3 separate regions of the Homo sapiens genome follow, and regions 1 and 2 are each linked to region 3. Evidence: promoter capture Hi-C in human tissues and cell types (Jung and others, 2019). All regions are on one chromosome and are shown on one strand. The core of a region is centred on a gene start or on the middle of the fragment in contact, and the rest is flanking DNA. Distances in the headings are between cores, read along the strand shown.

Region 1 (4,212 bases), core at 1,418-3,917, 160 kb after region 3:
CCTACATATTTAACCACAGATATTACACCCCTGCCTTGTACTGGCTTTGAGTCTTGCTAAACTCCCATGCGTCGTGGGCCCACTGGAATTATGTGCTCATGGGGCATCATATATGGGATACGCAAATAGGGCGGCATATGTTCCTATCTCCTCTGCTCATGTACGCACCCCATTGTCCCATCAGACTTCCCCCCCTCCTCCTTCTCCTTCTCTCCTCCTCCTCCTTCTCCTTCTTCCTTCTTCCTTCTTCTTCTTCACAGGCTCAGGCTATAATGCAATGGCATGAACATGGTTCACAGCAGCCTCAACATCCTGGACTCAAATCATCCTCCTGCTTCAGCCTCCCAAGTAGCTGGGGCCGGAAAAAAGCACCACTATGCCCAGCTAATTTTTTTTTTTTGTTGTTGTTTTTGAAACAGAGTTTTGCTCTGTCACCCAGACTGGAGTGCAGTGGCGTGATCCTGGCTCACTGCAACCTCTGCCTCCCAGGTTCAAGTGATTCTCTTGCCTCAGCCTCCTAAGTAGCTAGGATTACAGGAGTGTGCCACCATGCCTGGCTAATTTTGTATTTTTAATAGAGATGGGGTTTCACCATGTTGATCAGGCTGGTCTCAAACTCCTGACCTCAAGTGATCCATCCACCTTGGCCTCCCAAAGTGATAGGATTACAGGTGTGAGCCACTAAGCCCAGCCTTAATTTTTAATTTTTTAAAATTATTTTTTATTTTTGAGATAGAGTCTCACTCTGTCACCCAGGCTGGAATTCAGTGGCATGATCTCGGCTCACTGCAACTTCTGCCTCCCGGGTTCAAGCAATTCTCTTGCCTCAGCCTCCCAGGTAGCTGGGATTACAGGCGTGTGCCACCATGCCTGGCTAATTTTTGTATTTTTAGTAGAGATGGGGTTTCACCATGTTGGCCAGGCTAGTCTCGAACTCCTGGCCTCTAATGATCTGCCCACGTCGGCTTCCCAAAGTGATGTGATTACAGGCGTGAGCCACCACACCTGGCCCAATTAACTTTTTTTTTTTAGAGATGGGTCTCACCGTGTTGCCCAGGCTGATCGTGAACTCTTTAGCTTATGCAGTACTCCTGCCTCAGCCTCCCAAAGTGTTGGGATGACAGGCGTGAACCACCATGTCCAGCCCAAAAGATAAAATTCTTAAGAATTTCACTATAGGCTGGACGCGGTGGCTCACGCCTCTCATCCCAGCACTTTGGGAGGCCGAGGCAGGTGGATCACTAAAGGTCAAGAGTTCGAGACCAGCCTGGCCAAGATGGTGAAACCCCATCTCTACTAAAAATACAAAAATTAGCCGGGTGGATGTGCCTGTAATCCTAGCTACTCGGGAGGCTGAGGCAGGAGAATCCCTTGAACCCGGGAGATGGAGGTTGCAGTAAGCCAAGATCACGCCATTGCACTCCAGCCTGGGCGACAGAGCGAAACTCCGTCTCAAAAAAAAAAAAAGAATTTCACTTTCACTTTTTCAGCACAGTATTAGACCAAGTGCAGGGCGCTTCTGAGTGTGGAGCCATGAGCAGCCACGCGCAGGCTGCACACTCAGGAAGCCCACCCTTCAAGACAGCCACAGCTGAGAGTTACCTGTCACTGCCTTTCTGCCAGGAACTTGCCAACCCCTTTAAATGACTTATTGAATCATCACAACAGCCATTTGAGGCAGATTGTCTTATCTTTCTTTACAGATGAAAAAATGGAGGCTTAGATGTGATGTGTCCCAGCAGTCCCTGGAGACAGGATTCAGCCCTGTTGACTGTTCTTACTCCAGAGCCCAGGCTTTTATTCCCTACACTCTTCTGACCTCTTGGGAAAAACCTGGACCACACCATATCCTCCTTTCCAAAGGTCCCCGTGTTTGCCTCCTACCTGGGCACCGGGCTGCTGGCCCTGCCCTTCAGTTTCTCTCTTGCATGGCAGCTAAGGCAGCCCCCAGAGCAGAGGTCTGACTTCATCTCCCCTCTACTTAAAACCCTTCGCTGGGACTCCATGGCCTAGGGGTAAAACCCAGACTCTCTAATGTGCCATCCAAGGCCCCGGAGAGCTCCAACACCCTCCAGCCCCCTCTGCCTCTCTCTTTCAGTGCAGCTATTCCTACCCACTGATGTGACTTGCTCTCATTCGAGGTACTAGAACTTCTCTTTGTCTTTGCTCCCACTATCCCCCCTGCCTGAGGCACAACTATGAAGACTGCTGACTTCAGGACATGTGGCAGACCCCTGGGCACACTGCCCACCCAGCATTTTACAATATGACTTGGAATGATGTTTCCTAGCAGAGCGATAACCCTAGCAAACTGCCAGGTGGGGTGTGGTGTCTGAGCAGAGCACTCCAGCCTCTGGGAAGACTCCCTCTCTGCTCTGCCCTTGGTTTTTGCCTCATCAAGATTTGCCTTTTCTTCATGGTGGTCTTGACATGTCCGTAACTGGAAACCTCTTGATTTCACACATTTGCAACTTTTAAGAAAAAAAAAAAGTGACACAAAAATGTGTTTTTAACTTTTTGTGAAATATTCCTTTTCTTTTTCTTTATTCTTCTTAACACAATACTTTAGCTAATACTATTTGAGTAACATTTATTGGACATGCAACTCAAACATTATTCTGAAAATTAATAATATCAGAGTGTTGTGCCCTAATGTTATCAGGATAGTGAATGTCCCTATTGCTGGAGCTGAGGAGGGTGAACTCTGTGCTAATTCTCTTTCATGGATGTGGCTTGCTCAGAGAAAATGAAACCCCAGGACCCAATACGACAACAACAAAAATAACATGTGCAGTCTCCACCAAAAGTCACAGGGCGTTCAAATCCAGGGGTGCTTTTGTCCCCAAAGCCCTTATTTGGGGAAGCTTCTTGGGCCATCTTGTTAATTTATCTCTCCAATTAGAAGTATATACATATATATATATAATTAGCTGTGGGTATCTGCTTACAAAACATCCAGTGTTGCTCACAGAATGTTGTAAACCGGCACAATGGAGAGGATCCAGTTACGCCAGCTAACACCCTAGCTGGATAACGTGAGCTGGCGCTATCTCAAGGATGCTGCCCTCCACCGACGAACCCACACCAATGAGCTCAGTGCTGGGGTAGTTTGTGGCACAGGGTGGGAGAGAGGCCATAGGATTCTGGACGGTAGCGGTGTGTCCCTGAAAGCTTTGGGTTGTGTAATATGAACAGTGCTTCTAAGTTTGTTTGGTCAGAGTCTTGGTTCCTTGACCTTTCTTGATCAGCACTGAAGGTGGGGCAGAAGGGTCCTGTTTTCGAGAAACTGCTGAGGTTGTCTCTGCCATCTCAGACTCTTAGGCAGGAAGTTGGACCCATCCAGGTATCTGGGACCTGAGGGCCCCCCATTACTCCAAAGGCAGGGGAGGATTACTGCCAGATATAAGCCAGACAGACTAAGAGGCACGGTCTACACAACCCACAAGGAGAACTGCAGCCAGCTGGTGACTATGGGTCATAGTTTTTTTATTCGTCTGCTTCTCCCCCACCACCCCAGGAGGCAGAGTCAGGGAAAGAAAGTAGGGAGCCTAGATTCAGGGGCTCTGTTCCTTCTGCCCATACGGGATAAGGACAACTGGAATGCTCCTCAAAGCAAAAGTGTTAAACAAAGTCAACCCCCATTTTCAGATGTCGGCTGAAATCGGACACCCCATTTTTAGGTGTCAGCTGAAATCAGATGGGTGACAAGCCCCTCTTCACCCCACACTACCATAAGCAAGTTATTGAAGCTTTCTCTGCCTCCGTTTTTTCATCTGCTGGGTGGAGGTAATTCTGCTACAACTCCTGCAAGAGCCCTTTGGGGACTGAGTGAGATAATATGACCATAACCAGAACACCCCAAAGCCCTGAAGAGTTAGGAGAGCGCTCTGTGGGATTCCTGCTCATATCACTTTACTCCCAGCCTCAGTGCCTAGGCCTGCAGTGCGTCTGGGCCCCACTTTTGCCAGGCACGAATGAGCCTGCCCCTTTCTTCTGCTCCATAATGCACCTGCTGCAAAGTTCCTTACTTCACTGCCTCACGAAGGTATGGCCACATGGTGGTAGAGATGTGGCCCTCGCCTTGTCAGCTGCCCCATCTCCAGCCTCTTCTGTATTCTCTCTATTGTACTGGGCTCTAGGGCTTCCTTTCTATTCCACAGAGCAGCACTAAGCCAGGCTATGATGTGCGATCGCTCATCACCAACCCTTTGG
Region 2 (4,353 bases), core at 1,486-3,985, 210 kb after region 3:
CCTTCTCTATTGACAAAGAAGTGCATGAACTATATGGACTATATTTTGTATATTTGTGTTTTGTAAGGATGTGGGTCCACAATTCTGAAACTATATTCCTTGCATTTTTTTTTTTTTTTAAGATGGAGTTTCGCTCTTGTTGCCCAGGCTAGAGTGCAATCGTGCAATCTCGGCTCACCACAACCTTTGCCTCCCGGGTTCAAGCAATTCTCCTGCCACAGCCTCTCGAGTAGTTGGGATTACAGGCATGTGCCACCACACCTGGCTAATTTTGTATTTTCAGTAGAGATGGGGTTTCTCCACATTGGTCAGGCTGGTCTGGAACTCCCGACCTCAGGTGATCCACCTGCCTCAGCCTCCCAGAGTACTGGCATGAGCCACTGCACCCGGCCTTATTCCTTGCATTTTAAGATTAAGCAAATGAGTAAATATATTGATGATGCAAGACAGATCTCTCAACTATATAGTTCTTTAGAAATATATACTGAATTATTATATAGCAAAGGGGCATGATAGAAAACAGAGTTCCTCAAAATGGCCTCAGTAAATCTAAATTATCTTTAGTGAAATGATGATACTTTCCTAGTAAGGCGTAGGGATTAGAATCATAGTGAGTATACATGGGGTCCCTTTAACAGGGTGTTAAGTGTAAGGAGCTTTTGGTTCCAGTGTTTGACACAAAATAGACACAAATGAGATTTCTTCTCCTACTGAAATGCTTCTCAGTGATGTAGGGTGTTACATCACTGCCGTATATATATTCAGACTGCAGTCTGAATGACTTGGTATGCTTCTAGATAATCCAAAAAGATGGCAGCGAATCACAGTCAAAATATCAAGGCAAAAAGTTCACGTCACAAAGTACCAGAATGACCACAAGTCTTATAAGAGATGACGGGTCAGAAATAGAAACAAATAATGAGTTACTTTGAGAACCCAAGTAAACCAAACAGACTCAGGGAGTGCTCAGTGACAGCAAGCAGAGCCTGACAGCTGCTGAGAGCCTCACCCATGGCAAGGCTGCCAGACAAGCAGCTTTGAGCACATACGGCTCAGTCTACACACAGCTGTGTTCCTCTGGCAGTCCAGCAGTTCCAGCACTGGTCGGTGCCTTGTCAGAGCAACCAAAGGGAAAACACATTGTCAAAAACTAAAACAAAGACCACAAAAGGTCAAAAAATCAAATGGCACAAATCATTTACTTAACAGGAAAGGAGACACAGCAGTGAAGAAATTCACTGTATAGTTTGGCAAGGGGGAAAAATAAAAGGTTTTACTGTTAGGGAGCAGTTTCATGATGGTTATGCTAATTAAGGTTTGAAAACTAGCATTCCAGATAGGATAGGATGAGTTTTTAAGGACAGATACAGTTGATTATAAAGATTCCAGTGTTCATTAGTTAGGCAGAAGTCTTCAGTTAGGCCCAGTAGGGTCTGGGGCCAAGTACGTGGTCATTTCTCAGCATCAGTTGGATAGATCATGTTGTGATGAAATGCAACATCTAGTTTTGATATTTTGTAGGCAGGTGCTGCTGTAAATGAAAAGTTTTTCTTTTTACTGATTTATGAAAAGTGGAAAGAAAGGCAGATTTTGTTGTTTTGGCTTGGTGCCAGAATCCTAAAATCATGGACCATGTCTTTCTTGTTCATTACTGAATTCATAATACTTAGTAGAGAACCTAGTACTTTGGCATTTTCTAATAAGTCTTTGTTTACAGGTGGGCAGCCTGAAATTTATATTTGTTTTATATACAATAATTTCTTTAACCAGTATTCCATACACTTTCTCCTACATTCGGAAGCCCTCCAGAATGAGGGACTTTTTATGTCTATCAGACCCTTTTTTATATAATAAGAAAAGTCATGAAGGAGATTTCCACATGTGTCATAGAGACCACTATCTCCAAGCAGAACAAAGAGCTGTGGACAGTATATACCAATGTGAATGTCTATGGCTTAGGAGAAGGCTAACTATGATTGAAGCTGTTTACAGAGCAGAATACTCACTTGAGAGGTTCCTGGTTTCTCAAGATATTTTTGTTATGGATTTTCTGGATTGCAATAGAAAATGTGATGGAATGTAAAGGAATCATTGTTCAGAAGCAAATTGTGTTATACTTATATTATCAATTATAGGCATGGCAGTAAAACATTCTCTGTCCTAAGACAAGGCAGAACAACTCAGCAGCCCTACTTATGGCTACTCTAACAGAAAACTTTCATTCTTCAGCAGAACCAAAGCCAGAAATCTACACTTGTTCCTCCTGCCTTCTGGCCTTCTCCTGTCAGCAGTTCCTCAGTCAACATGTACTTCAGATCTTCCTGGGCTTATGTGCAGAAAATCACTTCCATCCAGGGAATTCTAGCCCAGGGCATTGGAAACAGCAGGGGCAGCAGTATTCCCATGTAAGCTGTTGGTTTGAAAATGCAGAAGGTCAGGAGAGAGGAGGTGGCTCCAAACCCTGGTCTGCAAGGACAGAGGAGAGAGAAACCTCAAGGGCATTCCCCAGCCCACTCCAAAGACAGTCAGCAAGTCCTAGAAAAGGCAACATGGTGGTAGAAACAGAGCCCAGCTCAGCCCAAAGACCAAACCCTGTGCAGCTAGACAAAGGCTTGAAGGAATTAGAAACCTTGAGATTTGGAGCAATCAACTGTAGAGAGTATGAACCGGACCATAACCTGGAATCAAACTTTATTACAAACCCGAGGACCCTCTTAGGGAAGAAGCCCTACATTTGCAGTGATTGTGGGCGAAGCTTTAAAGATAGATCAACCCTCATCAGACACCATCGTATACACTCGATGGAGAAGCCTTATGTGTGCAGTGAGTGCGGGCGAGGTTTTAGCCAGAAGTCCAACCTCAGCAGACACCAGAGAACACATTCAGAAGAGAAGCCTTATTTGTGCAGGGAGTGTGGGCAAAGCTTTAGAAGTAAGTCCATCCTCAATAGACATCAGTGGACTCACTCAGAGGAGAAGCCCTATGTTTGCAGCGAGTGTGGGCGAGGCTTTAGCGAGAAGTCATCCTTCATCAGACACCAGAGGACACACTCCGGTGAGAAACCCTATGTGTGCCTGGAGTGTGGACGAAGCTTTTGTGATAAGTCAACCCTCAGAAAACACCAGAGGATACACTCAGGGGAGAAGCCTTATGTTTGCAGGGAGTGTGGGCGAGGCTTTAGCCAGAACTCAGATCTCATCAAACACCAGAGGACACACTTGGATGAGAAGCCTTATGTTTGCAGGGAGTGTGGGCGAGGCTTTTGTGACAAGTCAACCCTCATCATACACGAGCGGACGCACTCTGGAGAGAAGCCTTATGTGTGTGGTGAGTGTGGCCGAGGCTTTAGTCGGAAATCACTCCTCCTTGTCCACCAGAGGACACACTCAGGGGAGAAGCATTATGTCTGCAGGGAGTGTAGGCGAGGTTTTAGCCAGAAGTCAAATCTCATCAGACACCAGAGGACGCACTCAAATGAGAAGCCTTATATTTGCAGGGAATGTGGGCGAGGCTTTTGTGACAAGTCAACCCTCATTGTACATGAGAGGACACACTCAGGAGAGAAGCCTTACGTGTGCAGTGAGTGTGGCCGAGGCTTTAGCCGGAAATCACTCCTCCTTGTCCACCAGAGGACACACTCAGGGGAGAAGCATTATGTTTGTAGGGAGTGTGGGCGAGGCTTTAGTCATAAGTCAAATCTCATCAGACACCAGAGGACACACTGACGGGAGAAACCTGTGTATGCAGGGGTCATGAACAAGACCTGAGTGACCAGTCAAGCCTCATGTTACCCCAGAGAGACACATGGGGAGTAGACCCTGTGTACACAGATTGTGAGTGAAGTTCCAGAGATGTGTCAGCCCTTATCAGGCATGGGAGGGACACGTTCAGGAGAGGAGCCTTATGAGTATAGAGTACGGGCAACTGTAGCCATCAGTCAGCCTTGAGCATGCACAAAAGGACACACTTAGGAGAGAAGTTTATGTGTAGGGACTGTGGGAAGGCTTTAGCAATAATCAACATTTACCAGACATCCAATGACAGCCTCAGGGGAAAGCACCCTTGTCTGGGGAGTGTTGGGGAGCATCAGTAAAAGAATGGACACTCAGGCACAGAGTGGCCCTCAGGAAGGAGGTCTTTGTTTGTAGGATGTATGGGCAAAGCTTTTGTGATCACACACCACAGGGAGAATCTGCATGTGGGGACACTGTGGAGCTCTGCCCAGATGACCTTTTCAGGGGTAACACCCCAGCTGCTTGAGAGAACAGTGTTGCTGCTGGCAGAGATGCATTCCAGAGATGCACTCCGCTCTGGAACTCACTCTCAGCCACAGGGAGCTGCATGCACCACAGG
Region 3 (4,477 bases), core at 829-3,328:
CAGCCAGGAAAGGACCGGCGTGCAGAAACGGCTTCAGTTTGCACATGAAGCGCGGTGTGTGTCTGTTACACGGTGAGGTTGAGGCGTCCTGCGGAGTGTGAATGTGGGCTCCTGTGTCAGGCCCGGTCTGCATTAAGCCCCCCATTCAGAATCCCTTCGGGCTGCTGCAACAGCTCAGACTTCTGGGAAGCCAAGTGCCCACCCTGTCCCAGCTGTCAGCAGAGCTGGCACCTCCCTAATCCTAACCACTGTGACTCCCCATAGGATACCTAAATGCCTCCCTCCATGGTCACAGCTGAAGGTGCAAAAAGCCAGGGGGTGCAGGGGCTTTGGGGGCAGGTCAATAAACTTTTAAAGTTCGCTTTCAAATCCTGGAGTCAACCCCCTACTGAGACTCCCAGACCCCTGCAAAGGAGTCAGAGGAGACCGGCGCGGGTGCTGGGTTCCCAGGGACTCTCTGCCTTCCAAAGGACCTACCAGAAAAACACCCGAGGGAAAGGCAGGGGCCCTGCCCAGTTCCCAGGCCAATCAGTCCAGCCAGGCCGACTGCCCACCTCATCTCTTCGCCACCGTCCAGCCCCCAGCCGCTTCTCTGGCTCTGCACACCCCCATCCGCCAACTCTGAGGGGCGTGGGAAAGGAAAAAGGGGGCTGGGTTTCGTGCCTTTCCTGACAGAGAGCTGCGGAATTGGACAAGGAGAGTCACTGGGACTGCCCAGGAAGGAGGGGCTGGACGTTCCTAGACGGCCGGTGGCTGTGGGTCATGGCTGGGAGCTCTGCCTCTTCTCTCAGAGCCATAGACAGCCCGGCTGGGGTGGCGTTCACCGCCGCACCCGCGAGCGGCCGTCAGAAATCTACCGGGGCAGCCCGGAGTGGAGGCAGAAGCCCCGCCCCAGCCCGCCCCACAGCCTCAGGAGGCAGCACAGGCACTCCGGACGGGGTGGGCCGGGGAGCTCGCCGGGACCGTCCAGAGTTAGGGCTCCTTCCGCCCCTGGCTCCAGCAGCTCCAGCAAGCTGAGCTGAGGCGGCGCGCAGCCGTCCAACCCGAGCGCACCGGGTCCGGTCCGAGCGCTTACCTCTGCGCCGCGGTGCTGGCGTCCAGGATGCCCGCGCCCTGCATCCAGGAGCGCACTGAGCCCAGGCCGGCGGGCAGCAGCGGCTCCTCCTTCAGGTTCAGCCCGCTGCGGGGCAGAGCGTCCTGCGCAGGGAACATGAGGGCGCGCGGTGAGTGAGCGCCCCCGCCGCCCCGGATCCGGTCCCGCTGAGGCTGCGGGCGTCTAGCTCAGCCCGACCCGACGGCACCAGGCGCCTCCAGCAGCGCAGCGCCGAGTCCGGGTGGCTCAGTGCGCGCTCGCCTCTTGGGCGCTCCCTCGGAGAAAGCGGGTCCGCGGGCGCCGGCGCTGTCCCCTCCCCTCCTGGGGCGCTGGGCGGGGAGATGGAGGGATTCCCCCGCGGCCTGAGCGCTGGCGGGCGGACTGCGAGCGGGGCGGGGAGGGCGGGGAGCGGAGCCCGCACCCGGTCCGCGCGGAGGCGCCCCAGAGGCGCGCTCTGGCGGCTGCCCGGGGCCGCGGTCGTCGGAGGGGGGGCCCGAGCGCCCCGGGAGCTGCCTCGGGCAAGGCGGGGGCGCGGGGCCGCCCGCCCTTTCCCCCTCGCCGCCCCCACCTCCCGCCCGCCCGCCCGCCCGCGGCGCCAGCGCGGGGCGCTGATTACCATCCGGGAGGCGGAGGCTGCGGGCGCGGAGCTCGGCGGCGGCGGCGACAGTGGCGGCAGCGGCGGCAGGAGCAGCAGCAGCCGCGCGTCCCGGGGAAAGGCTGGGGCCGCGCCGGGCCAGCAGACGCCGCCGCCGCCAGCGCCAGCGCCCCGCGTGCCCCGGCGTCCCGGCCCTGCCGTAGCCCCGGGCGGCAGCACCTGGAGCAGCAGCAGCAGCAGCCCGGCCGACTCCCCCCGGGGCCCGGTTCCCGCGCCGCCCCGCCGCGGCCGCCGCCGCCCGCCGCTCCCCGGGGCCTGGCCTCGGGCCCGGGCCATCCCGCCGCCGCCGCCGCCGCCGCCGCCGCTCCCGGGGGAGCGGTAGCCGAAGGGAGGGAGCGCAGGCGGGAGGAGGGATGTCGGGAGCGGGCGGGCCCAGGGGACGGGGGCCCGGGGGAGGCGGGGGCGGGGCGGCGCGGCCGGCCGAGGGGCGGCCGGGGACGTGACATCATCGGGGGAGGAGCGGCCGGGCCCGGGCCGCGGCGGCGGGGCGGACCCTGGCGAGTCGGTCGCCTGGGCTGGGGGCTGCGGCCTGGTCGAGGCCGCGGGAGGGAACGGAAGAGCCCGGCGGGGGCCACGGAAACCCGCGCAGGGAGGATCCGGGGCCGCGCGGCGAGGGAGCCCGGCCCGAGCGGGAGGTGCGCGCCCCGCTGCGCTCGGGAACCTCCGCGGCCTCCCCGTCGCCGCCGGACGAAGCCCCGGCGTCTTCGCGGCCTCATCTCCCTCCCCCGGCACCCGCCGTACTCTCCGCGCCCGACGCCTTGTGCCTGGACTTGCTGCTCATTTTGACGCCTCCGAGCTTTCGCTCTTGACGTCTTTCTCCCGCGTGACTGTACTCCCGCATTTCCCCGGCGACCCTGACCTCACTTTCACCCCAGCTAAGGACTGAAACGTCCCTGCCGTAGGCTGCGGCCCCAGACAAGCTGGGCGAGGTCCCTGCATCCAACCATCCCGATTCCTGATGCTGGGTTACCTAAGCCTAAAGCATTTTCAGTTTCCATCTGTGCCTTTCAGGAACCTCCTGATTTCTGATTGCGAGTTGGACAGGTAGGCTCAGAGCCCAGCTCACCTCCTGTTTCTCCCCAGCCGCGTCCCGTCTCAGATCCCATTCCTTTTTTTTTATTAGTTCCTGGCACAGAAGTCGTCTGGCCCTTGACCGTGGGGCAGAGACATTTCTGCCCCTCTCCCCACGTTGTCCTGGCCAGGCTTCGAGCAAGCCCAGACTGAGTCCAGCACTTTCCTGCAGAACAGCATGGGGGCCACCTGCCCTGCCTGCCATGTTCACGCTCAGACACCCCTGCAATAACACCTTCCTGCTCCAACTCACTCCCATCCTCTTCTGGGGGGCCTCCAAGTGTGAGTTAGCGTTCTGTCACACATTGGCCCAGATGAGGCGTCCTGGGGGCACTGCTGGTTCTCCTGCCATCACAGAGGCCCTCTCACCTCCTTTCCTGGTCTCTTTACCACCCCTTCTCTCTATGCCTCTCCCCATCACCCACAGGGGGCTGCCATTCCCACCAGGACTCCTTCAGGTCTCAGCTTTTACCCTAGGTGGGATTATCAAACATGGGTTTCTCCTTAAGACAATTCTTAAGCCAGTCTCTTTCTCCATCTCCTGATCTGCCTCTCTAAATCTTGCTTCTCACAGTGTGGTCCCCGGACCAGCAGCATTGACATCACCTGGGAGCTGGTGAGGAATCCAGACTCTTAGGCCCTGCCGGGACCTGCTGAATCGGAACCTGCAATTTACCAAGACCTGTACACACATTACATGTGAGAAGCCCCCCCAGAGCTGTTCCACACTTGCTCCACTCCTCTCCCCAACATTCAGACCCACCTCTGGCTCTCTCATTTCCAGCAGACACCCTTCCTCTTACCCAGTGGAGAGGACTCAGGGAATCTTGGCAGAACCCTGCTGGCACCATCAGCGGCGTATGCTCCTCCTCGTTTCTGTCTTTTCACCCGTTCTCTTCTCTCGGTCTTCCACTGTGGAGATGGATGTGGAACCTTTTTGCTTAGTCCTGTCTTCTGCCTTTCCTGAGATTACCCCACCGATCTCCTGTTTGTGTCTCAATATGTTCTTTTCTCTGCTCAGATCTCCCCATTCTTAAAAGAACTGTCCCCTCCTCCTCGCCTCCTTCTTCAATTTCTGCCCCTCCTGTGTCTGAGACCGTTCACAGGAACGCTCTGCCAAGGATGCCTGACTGGCCCCCAGCAAGCCACTCCTGGGGCCCTTGTGTGCTGGCTCCCTTCCAGCCCTGCCTTCCTGCTTCTGCTCTCAGACTCCGTGGTCTCTCTTGGGCTTCAGGGCCTGGGACCTCCTGGCAGCAGTGGGCTACCCCACCCCCCAACCCCACACACACGGGAAACCACCCTGGTGACCAGATATATATATATATATATATATACACATATATATATGCATGTGTATGTATTTACACACACCTGGGAAATATATATATCTGGTGTATATATATTTACACACACCTGGGAAACTGCCCTGATGACCAGAGCACACTGTCTTTCTCCTCTGCCCTCTGAGCACCTCAAGCTGCTGTGCCTGGCGCTCTTCTTCTGTTCTCCCCTCACAGAATTCACGTTCCTCCACAGTCTCAGAGAACATCTTTGAGGAAATGGTCTCCCCATATGGGACTCTCACTTCTGTCAGTCCTGAACATCAGTGGGTGAGGACAGGGCTGGGCTTGGCCCTCAGAGAGGAGAGGAGCACCTGC

What was found. The method cuts DNA at HindIII sites, captures the fragments that hold promoters and counts their contacts. A contact is called where the count stands out against the background at its distance.
Region 1: a contact is called between a fragment that was not itself captured here and the fragment with the promoter of EBF4 in region 3, in 1 of the 25 tissues and cell types used here (lymphoblastoid cells).
Region 2: a fragment that was not itself captured here is called in contact with the fragment with the promoter of EBF4 in region 3 in 2 of the 25 tissues and cell types used here (H1 embryonic stem cells and thymus).

What each region holds. Positions count from the first base shown.
Region 1 is chr20:2,527,887-2,532,098 of GRCh38, reverse strand. No RefSeq gene overlaps it. Among named protein-coding and RNA genes, the nearest start is that of TMC2, 6.6 kb to the left of the region's middle. The HindIII fragment of the contact is 5,133 bases long and covers 101-4,212 here.
Region 2 is chr20:2,482,533-2,486,885 of GRCh38, reverse strand. ZNF343 (zinc finger protein 343) reads left to right here. Exons shown (of 6, transcript NM_024325.6): 6 at 2,230-4,353. The coding sequence ends at 3,725. Among named protein-coding and RNA genes, the nearest start is that of SNRPB, 14 kb to the right of the region's middle. The HindIII fragment of the contact is 4,668 bases long and covers 402-4,353 here.
Region 3 is chr20:2,690,381-2,694,857 of GRCh38, reverse strand. EBF4 (EBF family member 4) reads right to left here and starts at 2,078. Exons shown (of 17, transcript NM_001395167.1): 1 at 1,076-2,078. The coding sequence starts at 1,212. It overlaps LOC105372507 (a long non-coding RNA gene), which reads left to right and starts at 2,238. Exons shown (of 3, transcript XR_937210.3): 1 at 2,238-2,792; 2 at 3,394-3,518. RefSeq lists an enhancer at 1-907. The HindIII fragment of the contact is 20,356 bases long and covers 1-4,477 here.